3 separate regions of the Homo sapiens genome follow, and all the other regions are linked to region 1. Evidence: promoter capture Hi-C in human tissues and cell types (Jung and others, 2019). All regions are on one chromosome and are shown on one strand. Each heading gives the region's core, a stretch centred on a gene start or on the middle of the fragment in contact. The rest is flanking DNA. Distances are from core to core; before and after follow the strand shown.

Region 1 (3,897 bases), core at 1,285-3,784:
CCCTATCGTACTTCCCATCTGTCATTCGTTATGAATCAACAGTGGAGAAAACCACACGTTTGTGCTGAGCTGGTGAAGCTGCGTCAACGGCTGTCACCGAGCCCTGGTGTCTGGGAGGAGGTGGGGACGGTGGCTGCCAATGGCTGTGTGGCCCTGGGCACGTAATTCGCCCTCTCTGTGCCTTGCCCTATCTGTAAAGGGACCAGAGGCCCCCGAAGTACAAGAATTACGTGTATCTCTTGGGGAGGAGAGTTTTGATCCAGAACTTTCTAGAATTTTCTACAGCCTGTCAATGGGGGTGGGGAATCTTCACCCAAACACTCTGGCTCTGAGTACCTAGGAAGCAGCAACGTTTCTACCAAGCTGCCAGCCACCAGCCCACCCCTAGGGCCCTGAAGTCCCAGAGGGATCAGGTCAGGGCGGCCTCATGGCACTCATTGGGAAGATCTCCTTGACCAGTGAGGTCCACTCCCAAAGTCCCTCTTACACCCGATCTGCCTGTCTGACTTCTGATCCTGAATATCACTTGTCTGTGCGACCTTTGTTGATCCATTTAGAGCAATGACCTTGAACCTTCCCCAACAACATCTCTGCTTAATTTTTCTGGCAGAATTTTTCACCATCCAACGGGCTCAGGTGTATTAAAAAATATATATATTTTACACGTGTGTGTATATATATACACACATATATATTTTTATGTATAATATACATATATGTATATTAAAATGTATACTTTTATGTGTGTATATATGTATGTGTATATATGTATGTGTGTCTATATATTGTGTATATATATGTATGTGTATATATGTATGTGTATATACATATATGTATGTGTGTCTATATATTGTGTATATATATGTATGTGTATATATATGTATGTGTGTGTGTGTATATATATACATAGAGAGAGAGGGAGAGTTTTGTTTTGTTTGTTTCTGGAGACAGGGTTTCACTATGTTGCCCAGGCTGGAGAGCAGTGTTATGATCTCGGCTCACTGCAGCCTCCATCTTCGGGGTTCAAGTGATTCCCTTGCCTCAGCCTCCCAAGTAGCTGGGACTACTGGTGCGTGCCAACATGCCCAACTAATTTTTGTATTAGTAGAGATGGAGTTTCTCCATGTTGGCCAGGCTGGTCTCAAACTCCTGACTTCAAGTGATCCTCCTGCCTCGGCCTCCCAAAGTACTTTGATTACAGATGTGAGCTCCCGCACTCACCTGGCCAAATTTTTTATTCTTTTATTTTTTATTTTTTTTGAGATGGAGTCTCACTTCGTCGCCAGGCTGGAGTGCAGTGGCACGATCTCAGCTCACTGCCACCTCTGCCTCCCGGGTTCAAGCGATTCTCTTGCCTCAGCCTCCCAAGTAGGTGGGACTACAGGCGTGCACCACCACGCCCGGCTAATTTTTGTATTTTTAGTAGAGACGGGGTTTCGCCGTGTTGGCCAGGCTGGTCTCGATTTCTTGACTTTGTGATCTGCCCGCCTTGGCCTCCCAAAGTATAGGGATTACATGCGTGAGCCACCAGGCCCAGCCTAAAATTTATTTTATTATCTGTTCTTTAACTAGAACCTTAGGTAAGGAGGTCTGGGATCTGTGTCTCTTGGCTACCGTGCCTGGCACACAGTTGGCGCTCCATGAATGCACGCACAATGAAGGGATGGCCCTGCCTGGAATCTGCCTGGTAGGCGTCTAGACTCTGGGGCCCCGCAGGTGAGGGATAGGCTCCCGGCTCTGCCTTGTGCCAGCCCCACCGGTCACTCCCCTGCTCTATGCCTCAACCTCCTCATCAGTCAAACAGGGATGACAGTAGTAACTATACAGGGTGATGTGAGTGTAAAACCAGCTAATGTGAGCCAAAACCCGGCTAATTTTTGTATCTTTAGTAGAGACAGGGTTTCGCCATGTTGGCCAGGCTGGTTTCGAACTCCTGACCTCAGGCAAGCTGCCCACCTCTGCAGGGTGGATCACCTGAGGTCAGGGCAGAGTCGCTGGAAACAGTCCATGACACCTGGCCTGAGCTGTTTCTTAAAAATATATCAGAAGGGCCGAGCGTGGTGGTTTATGCCTGCAATCCCAGCACTTTGGGAGGCCGAGGCGGGTGGATCACCTGAGGTCAGGAGTTTGAGACCAGCCTGGCCAACGTGGTGGAACCCTTTCTCTACTAAAAATCCAAAGTTAGCCCGGCGTGGTGGTGGATGCCTGTAATCCCAGCTACTCGAGAGGCTGAGGCAGGAGAATTGCTTGAACCTGGGAGGCAGATGTTGCAGAGTCAAGATCCTGCCACTGCACTCCAGCCTGGGCAATAAGAGTGAAACTCTGTCTCAAAAAAAAAAAAAAAAATATATATATATATATATATATATATATATATATATATATATATATATACACATATATATATATACACACACATATATATATGATATATATATAATGTATCAGCAGTAGCACGGGTCTGACGGTTCCTGATTGGCTCCGAGGAGGGGGACAGCTCCGGGTGAAGCCTGAGGAGAATCCGCCCCTTCTCCAGAAGGAGGAAGAAGGGCCCTGCTGGTCACACAGGACCCAGTCTGCGGTGGGGGTTTTCCCGCCACCGCCCCGCCCTCCCTGGGGCCCCCACCTCACCCTCTCCTGGCACCCTTCACCGTCAACCTGTCGGGCCGGGTCTGAGCAGGTCTGGAGGTGGGCGGGGAGCCCTGGCCTCCCCACCTCCTCCCGTCCCCACCCTGTTCCCAGCACTCAAGCCTTGCCACCGCCGAGCCGGGCTTCCTGGGTGTTTCAGGCAAGGAAGTCTAGGTCCCTGGGGGGTGACCCCCAAGGAAAAGGCAGCCTCCCTGCGCACCCGGTTGCCCGGAGCCCTCTCCAGGGCCGGCTGGGCTGGGGGTTGCCCTGGCCAGCAGGGGCCCGGGGGCGATGCCACCCGGTGCCGACTGAGGCCACCGCACCATGGCCCGCTCGCTGACCTGGCGCTGCTGCCCCTGGTGCCTGACGGAGGATGAGAAGGCCGCCGCCCGGGTGGACCAGGAGATCAACAGGATCCTCTTGGAGCAGAAGAAGCAGGACCGCGGGGAGCTGAAGCTGCTGCTTTTGGGTGAGTCCAGGGTCGGTGGGCGGTGGGTGGTGGGCAGTGGGCGGTGGCCAGCCGGCAGGGGTGTCGGGGCAAGGAGGCGGATCAGGCTAGGTCAGACATTGGCATCGTGGAGCCGTCGCCTCCTCCCAGGGAATGGGGAGCCTGGAACCCATTTTCCAGATGAGAAAGACTGAGGTTCAGAGAAGCCAAGTTCCTTGTCCAACGTGCGACCAGCGGCCAGGTGCCCAGGCCTGTCCACTGTGTGGGGCATATACAATAGCAGACGTGGCTCTACCGGGCCCCTGCCGGGCAGGCCCAGCACGCCCTACCTGTCTGTGTCATGGCGAGGGAATGATGAGCTCAGGTGTGCAACCCGTTCTGGCCAGCCCACCCGTAAGGGAGGGGCCGGCTCCAGCCTCTCCTTCACCAGGACGCTCCCTCTCGCCTTTACCTCCCTGCCATGGCTGGAGAGGGCTTGTCTAGGGCTCCTTTGGGGGCTAGAAAGGATGGATTGATTGGTTCATTGGTTCATTCATTCATTATTCATTCATTTAAGATTTATTGGGTAGCTCCCAGGAACGAGGCAGCCAAACAGGGGAAGATATTTCTGTCTTCCTGGATCTCATTTCCTGTGAAGGAGCCAAGACATTTAGTCTGTAAACTCATAAGCAGATAAAATAATTCTGGCAACAAGAATTATCTAGGAGAAAACAAAACAGGGTGATGGCTTCCATGCGGAGGCTTCAGATGGGGGAGTCGACGTCAGTAACGGTTCAAGATTCTGAACTCTGGCTGGGTGCAGTGGCTCAAGCCTGTGATTT
Region 2 (3,869 bases), core at 1,164-3,663, 1.0 Mb after region 1:
TGTGGTGGTGGGAGCCTGTAATGCCAGCTACTCAGGAGGCTGAGGCAGGAGAATCGCCTGAACCTGGGAAGTGGAGGTTGCAGTGAGCTGAGATTGTGCTACTGCACTCCAGCCTGGGCGACAGAGCGAGACTCTGTCTTGAGAAAGAAAGAAAGAAAGAGAGAAAGAAAGATAGAGAGAGAAAAGAGAAAAAAAGAGAGAGGAAAGAAGGAAGGAAGGAGGGAGGGAGGGAGGGAGAGAAGGAAGGAAGGAAGGAAGGAAAGGAAGGAAGGAAGGGGAAGGGAACCAGGATGTGAATTTTTTTAGAGCAAGGAGGGCACATAAATTACCCCTCTCAACCTAGCACATGGCACAGTGTCCAGCAAACAGAAAGCTTGATTTAGTCTCCTATTTGCTAAACTTCCAACAGTGCCCTGCTGTTTAGCACAAACCAAACTCCTTGCCACAACACACAGGGCTTTGCACGACCTGCCCCGTCCCCTCCCTGCCTTCCCCTCCTCCCTGCCTTCCCCTCCTCCCTGTCTTCCTCTCCTGCCTGTCTTCCTCTCCTCACTCTGCTCCAGCCACAGGGGTCTCATTGCTGTTCCTCCAATGCGCTAGGCACGGACCTGCCTCAGGGCCTTTGCACAAACTGTGCCTCTGCCTGGGACACCTTTCCCCAGACCTTCCCAGGGCCAGTTCCATCTCATCCTTCAGGACTGCACTGAACATGTCATTTTTTTTTTTTTTGAGACAGAGTCTCACTGTCGCCCAGGTTGGAGTGCAGTGGTGTGATCTCAGCTCACTGCAACCTCCGCCTCCTGGGTTCAAGTGATTCTCCTGCTTCGGCCTCCCGAGTACTGGTATTGCAGGCATGTGCTACCACACCCATCTAATTTTTATATTTTTAGTACAGATGGGGTTTCACCATGTTGGCCAGGTTGGTCTCAAACTCTTGACCTCAGGTGATCCACCCACCTCGGCCTCCCAAAGTGCTGGCATTACAGATGTGAGCCACCACGCTTGGTCTAATATGTCATCTGCTAAAGGGGGACTTTGCCTGGGCACAGTGGCTCATGCCTGTAAATCCAGCACTTTGGGAGGCTGAAGCAGGTGGATCATTTGAGCCCAGGAGTTTGAGACCATACTGGCCAACACAGTAAGACCCCATCTCTATAAAAAAAAAAAAACAAAATTAGCCAGGTGTGGTGGTGCACGCCTGCAGTCCTAGCTACTTGGGAGGCTGAGACGGGAGGATCACTTGAACCCAGGAGTTGGAGGCTGCAGTGAGCTATGATCCTGCCACTGCACTCCAGCCTGGGCAATAGAGTGAGACCCTGTCCTCCACCAACACCAAAAAAAAAAACAAAAAAACAAAACAGGGCTCCTCTCTCTTGGTAGGGGGTGGAGGGGAGGTCAGAGACACCTCTCAGCCACCCGGGCTGATTCACAAATATCGAACATTCACTAAAATGTCAATACAGTGACCTAGAGCCAGAGGGGAAGAGGGAGGGTACAAGAGGAGAGTTCCAGGCAGAGGGGCGAGCAGGTGAGTAGGTGCAAAGGCCCTAAGCAGGAACCAGTTTGGCTCCATAAATATTTGTTGACTCAATGAACGATAGAAGATTCTAGAGAGAATTGATTGCACAGAATCACCCATGGGGACTCAGAGGCGGAGTCCAAGCTGGTTTCGGAGGGGGCTGGGGGCCGGAGGTTGGCAGGTGGGGTGAAGGATGGGAGCCGCTAGCTGCTGGCAGGAAAACTGGCTTCAGTGAAGATCTGGTCTGGTCCTCTTGGTTTGTTTCTGTCCAGGGAGTGGACAGGACCCATGTAAGGGCCCTGGGCTATCCCAGAACCCATCTGGGAATTCTGAAGAGAAAAAGTCCTGTAACTGGCCGGGTGCGGTGGCTCACGCCTGTAATCCCCGCACTTTGGGAGACTGAGGGGCCGATCACGAGGTCAGGAGTTCGAGACCAGCCTGGAAAACATGATGAAACCTCGTCTCTACTAAAAATACAAAAGTTAGCCGGGCATGGTGATGGGGACCTGTAGTCCCAGCTACTCGGGAGGCTGAGGCAGGAGAATCACTTGAACCCAAGAGGCAGAGGTTGCAGTGAGCCGAAATGAGATGGCACCACTGCACTCCAGCTTGGGCCACAGAGCGAGACTCCGTCTCAAAAAAGAAAGAAAAAAAGAAAAAGTCCTCATAAGTAGGGCAGAGGTCACGGCAGAGTGGAGGTACCCCAGACTTCGACCTTTGCTCACTGAGGGCTGGAAAACCACAAAACACCCAGATAACGGTCTTCCCTCCCCTGCTCCTGCCTGCCCCAGTGTCACTGGCCCTCAACCCTGTCTCTCCACCCTGTCCACCAATCAGCACCTGGAGGTGGGCTGGGAGCTGCCTGTGACCGCTTCAGCATCTTTTGGGAGTGGTGACAGAGCCACAGAGGGCTGTGAGCTTGCCCGGCCCCAGGTAACGCTGGCGGTGGGTGGGCCTCCAGCTTGGAGCAGAGACCCCCCGAGGCATCTGCAGACAGAACTGGATGGACCCATGAATACGGATTTAGCTGCTGGAAAGGTGAGCCCTACTAGGTCCCCAGGGAGAGCGGGAGTCTAGGCTGGGAAAGCCTACCCAAGCTGCCAGAGCTGGAAGGACCCCATCTCCACCCCTATTGTACAGATGGGAAGACTGAGGCCCAGAGAAAGGATGCAATGAGCAAAACTGTGTGCCTTTGCCCCGGGGCTGCCCTTGTCTTTCTTCCAGGTCCCCCTGCCTCCTAGGAGCGGGCACTTGGGGAGGCTGTGAAGGCCTGAGAGGCAAGCGGCATCTCTAGCTAGGGCCTCTCTCCAGCACTTTTTATTTTATTTTATTTTATTTTTATTTTTATTTTTTGAGATGGAGTCTCCCTCTGTCACCCAGGCTAGAGTGCAATGGCACGATCTCAGCTCACTGCAACTTCCACCTCCTGGGTTCAAGAGATCTTCCTGCCTCAGCCTCCCAAGTAGTTGGGATTACAGGTGTGCACCACCACGCCCGGCTAATTTTTGTACTTTTCCTAGAGACAGGGTTTCACCATGTTGGCTAGGCTGGTCTCAAACTCCTGACTTCAGGTGAGCTGCCCGCCTCGGCTTCCCAGAGTGCTGGGATTACAGATGTGAGCCACCGTGCCTGCCATACTTTTTTGTTTTTTGAAACAAGGTCTTGCTCTGTGACCCAGGGTGGAGTGCAGTGGGGTGGCCATAGCTCACTGCAGCCTCAACCTCCTGGGTTCAAGGGATCCTCCTACCTCAGCCTCCCCAGTAGCTGGGACGACAAGTGTGTGCCACCGCAGCCAGCTAATTTTTTTAAATTATTTGCAGTAGGGATAGGGGTCTCTATGTTGCGCAGGCTGGTCTTGAACTCCTGGGCTCAAGTGATCCTCCTGCCCCGGCCTCCCAAAGTGCTGAGATTACAGGCATGAGCCACCACATCCAGCCTCTCCAGCACTTTAAGAGAAATTGGCTCTCACACTGTGGAATTCTCTCTATCAGCCTCAAAGTCCAGATTTGGAAAGGGAGTCTCAGCGAGGGGCAGCAGCTGGCCCAACCCGGAGGCAGAGCGGCAACTGAACTCTAGCCGGAAAGAGCCAGGGTTATGTGCACATGGGAGGTGGGGAGGACAGGGGCTGTATGTGACCCTCACATCTGTTCCTCGCGCCCCAGATGGCTTCTGCTGCCTGCTCCATGGACCCCATCGACAGCTTTGAGCTCCTGGATCTCCTGTTTGACCGGCAGGACGGCATCCTGAGACACGTGGAGCTGGGCGAGGGCTGGGGTCACGTCAAGGACCAGGTGAGGAGTCCACTGCAGTTGCCCCGGGACCACAGAGCTCCAGGCGGGCCAACTGAGGC
Region 3 (3,958 bases), core at 31-2,530, 1.1 Mb after region 1:
TGAGCTGCCTGCGGCCTGCGAGGAGGCGCGGCAGGGCCTGGCCGAGCTGCGGGAGGCCTCCGAGGCCCTCCGCCAGTCCGTGGTGCCGGCCTCTGAGCACCGCCGGCTGCAGGAGGAGGCCCTGGAGCTGCGGGGCCGGGCAGCCAGTCTGGAGCAGGAGGTGGTGGCCACGGGCAAGGAGGCCGCCCGGCTGCGCGCGGAGCTGGAGCGGGAGCGTGTGTGCAGCGTGGCGCTCTCGGAGCACGAACGCATCGTGGGCACCCTGCAGGCCAACGTGGCCCAGCTGGAGGGGCAGCTGGAGGAGCTGGGACGGCGGCATGAGAAGACCAGCGCAGAGGTCTTCCAGGTGAGCAGGGCTGGTCACCACCCGGGCCCCACCCCCATTGGCCACGTGGCGGCCTGTTTTAGCCCCGCAGCCTTGAGGTGTTTTGAACCCATCAGTTTTACTTGAACAGACCTACTTTATTTTATTTATTTATTTATTTATTTATTTATTTTTGAGATGGAGTTTCACTCGTGTCGCCCAGGCTGGAGTGTAGTGGTGTGATCTCAGCTCACTGCAACCTCCTCTTTCCCGGTTCAAGTGATTCTCCTGCCTCAGCCTCCGGAGTAGCTGGAATTACAGGCACCTGCCCCCACGCCCAGCTAACTTTTGTATTTTTAGTAGAGATGGGAGTTCACCGTGTTGGCCAGGCTGGTCTTGAACTCCTGACCTCAGGTGATCCACCCACCTCAGCCTCTCAAAGTGCTGGGATTATGGGCATCAGCCTCCGCACCTGGCCTTGAACAGACATTTGACCCTGCAGCCATCCTGACCTCTTGGAATTTTCCACTTGTGTTTTCTCTCTTTCTTTCTCTTTATTTCTCCTTCCTTCCTCTCTCTTTCCTTTCTTTCTTCATCCCCCTTCCCTCCCCCCTTCCCCTTCCCTTCCTTTCTTTTTTTTTTTTTTTCAGACAGGGTGTGGCTCTGTCTGAAAAGTCACCCAGTCACCCAGGCTGGAGTGCAGTGGCACAATCATAGCTCACTGCAACCTCCACCTCCTGGGCTCAAGTAATCCTCCCACCTCAGCCTCCCAAGTAGCTGGTACCACAGGTGTGCACCACCATGCTCGTCTAACTTTTTAATTTTTTGTAAAGACAGGGTTTTGCCATGTTGCCCACGCTGGTCTCAAACACCTGAGCTCATGGCCGGGCACCGTGGCTCACGCCTGTAATCCCAGCACTTTGGGAGGCCAAGGTGAGTGGATCACCTGAGGTCACAAGTTCGAGACCAGCCTGGACAACATCGTGAAACCCCGTCTCTACTAAAAATACAAAAATTAGGTTGGCATTGTGGCACGTGCCTGTAATCCCAGCTACTGGGGAGGCTGAGGCAGGAGAATCGCTTGAACCCGGGAAGTGGAGGTTGCAGTGAGCTGAGATTACACCACTGCACTCCAGCCTAGGCGACAGAGCAAGACTCTGTCTCAAAAAAAAACAAAAACAAAACAAAAACAAGCAAATAGTAGCCAGGCATGGTGGCACCTGTGGTCCCAGCTACTTGGAAGGCCGAGGTGGGAGGATCACTTAAGCCTGAAAGATTGAGGCTACAGTGAGCCATGATCGCACCACCGCACTCCAGCCAGGAGTGCAGGTCCGGAGCAACAGAGCAAGACCCTGTCTTAAAAAAAATCCAAAAACAAAAGAACAAAGTAGAAGGATCATATGAATTCTGGGGTCTAGCATCATTGGAGTCTTAGTGTCCTGAGAGTCATGCGTGGGCTTGGGCCACAGGTGCAGCGTGAGGCCCTGTTCATGAAGAGTGAGCGACACGCAGCCGAGGCACAGCTGGCCACAGCAGAGCAGCAGCTACGGGGGCTACGGACCGAGGCGGAAAGGGCTCGCCAGGCCCAGAGCCGGGCCCAGGAGGCTCTGGACAAGGCCAAGGAGAAGGACAAGAAGGTGGGTGCCCCCTCTCCCACACTCAGTCAGGGAGGCATCCACTCAGCAAAGGTTGGGGCCAATCTACGAAGGTCCTCACTGCAAGGGCCTTGGAAAATCAACCCATTTTCCAGAAGGGAAACTGAGGCTCAGAAACGGAAGGGGACCTGGTTACAGCCTCTGACAAGTCAGACACACACAGGCTGCTGTTCCAGGTACCAATTATAACCACAGTTACATTTATTTTATTTTTTTACTTGAGACGGAGTCTCGCTCTGTCGCCCAGGCTGGAGTGCAGTGGCATGATCTCGGCTCACTGCAACCTCTGGGTTCAAGCAATTCTCGTGCCTCAGCCTCCCGAGCAGCTGGGATTACAGGCATGCGACACCACACCCAGCTAATTTTTTATATTTTTAGTAGAGATGGGGTTTCGTCACGTTGGCCAGGCTGGTCTCGAACTCCTGAGCTCAAGTGATCCGCCTGCCTCAGCCCCCAAAAGGGCTGGGGTTACAGGCGTGAGCCACTGCGTCTGTCTCCACAGTTACATTTATTGAGTGCTTACTGCATGCCAGGCCCTGTGGACTGGATGCATTTAGTCACATCCAGTTCTCACAGGATAGGGGCTTTTATTATCCCCATTTGAGGAAACAGAAGCACAGAGAGGTGAAGTCACTTGCCTAAGGTCACACAGCCATGCAGTCTTTCAGCTGGGTTTGTACCCACGTTCCCACGTTTCGTTCCTAAACAATACTAATGATGATAACAACAGCCTCCAGGTGTTAGATTGGGAATTTTTCACACATTACCTTTTTTTATTGTTGTTTTGTTTTTTTCTGAGGCAGAGTCTTGCTCTGTCACCCAGACTGGAGTGCAGTGGCGTGATCTTGGCTCACTGTAAACTCTGCCTCCCGGGTTCACGCCATTCTCCTGCCTCAGCCTCCCGAGTAGCTGGGACTACAGGCGCCTGCCACCACGCCCGGCTAATTTTTTTGTATTTTTAGCAGAGATGGGGTTTCACCATGTTAGCTGGGATGGTCTCAATCTCCTGACCTCGTGATCCGCCTGCCTCGGCCTCCCAGAGTGCTGGGATTACAGGCGTGAGTCACCGCGACCGGCCTCACACATTACCATTTTTAATCTTCCTGCAACGCTAAAAGCCAGAAAGCTTTTTTTTTTTTTGGCAGAGTCTCACTTTGTCACCCAGGCTGGAGTGCAGTGGTGCAATCTCAGATCATTGCAGCTTCGACCTCCTGGGTTCAAGCGATCTTCCTGCCTCAGCCTCCTGAGTAGCCAGGACTACAGGTTACAGGTGTGTGCCATCATGCCTGGCTAATTTTTTTGTTTCTTTCTTTTTTTTTTGAGAGAAAGTTTCACTCTGTCGCTCAGGGTGAAGTACAGTGGCATGATTTTGGCTCACTGCAACCTCACCTCCCGGGTTCAAGAGATTCTCCTGCCTAGCCTCCCGAGTAGCTGGGACTGCAGGCGAGTGCCACCACACCCAGCTAATTTTTGTATTTTTAGTAGAGACTGGGTTTCACCATGTTGGCCAGGCTGGTCTCGAACTCCCGACCTCAGGTGATTCAGCCTCCCAAAGTGCTGGGATTACAGTCATGAGCCACCGTGCCTGGCCTGTTTTTTTTTGCTTTTGTTTGTTTGTTTGTTTGTTTGTTTGGTAAGAGATGGGGTTTCACCATATTGCCCAGGTTGGTCTCAAACTCTTGAGCTCAAGCGATCTGTCTGCCTCAGCCTCCCAAAGTGGTAGGATGACAGGCGTGAGCCACCGCACCTGGTTTCAGAAAGTATTTTTGTCCCCATTTTCCAGATAAGCAAACCAAAGCTTTAAGAGATGAAGTGAGTGGCTCAAAGTCACGCAACATGTCACTGGACAGGAGACGAGACACCCAGAGTCCCAGGCGCTTCAGCATAAAGAATGACCCAGCCTCGACTCACTGTGGGACCTTAGACCAGACACTTCACCTCTCTGAGCTTCAGTTTCCCCTCTGTAAAGGGAGGGCAAAATTGCAGTTAGGATGATGGT

What was found. Contacts are between HindIII fragments. The study calls those that stand out against the background at their distance.
Region 2: a contact is called between the fragment with the promoter of CREB3L3 here and the fragment with the promoter of GNA15 in region 1, in 1 of the 25 tissues and cell types used here (lymphoblastoid cells).
Region 3: a contact is called between a fragment that was not itself captured here and the fragment with the promoter of GNA15 in region 1, in 1 of the 25 tissues and cell types used here (pancreas).

Annotation. Positions count from the first base shown.
Region 1 is chr19:3,133,499-3,137,395 of GRCh38, forward strand. GNA15 (G protein subunit alpha 15) reads left to right here and starts at 2,535. Exons shown (of 7, transcript NM_002068.4): 1 at 2,535-3,097. The coding sequence starts at 2,953. The HindIII fragment of the contact is 27,733 bases long and covers 1-3,897 here.
Region 2 is chr19:4,151,218-4,155,086 of GRCh38, forward strand. CREB3L3 (cAMP responsive element binding protein 3 like 3) reads left to right here and starts at 2,414. Exons shown (of 10, transcript NM_032607.3): 1 at 2,414-2,557; 2 at 3,682-3,810. The coding sequence starts at 2,531. The HindIII fragment of the contact is 37,156 bases long and covers 1-3,869 here.
Region 3 is chr19:4,217,818-4,221,775 of GRCh38, forward strand. ANKRD24 (ankyrin repeat domain 24) reads left to right here. Exons shown (of 22, transcript NM_001393985.1): 18 at 1-346; 19 at 1,774-1,941. Among named protein-coding and RNA genes, the nearest start is that of EBI3, 9.7 kb to the right of the region's middle. The HindIII fragment of the contact is 4,281 bases long and covers 1-3,421 here.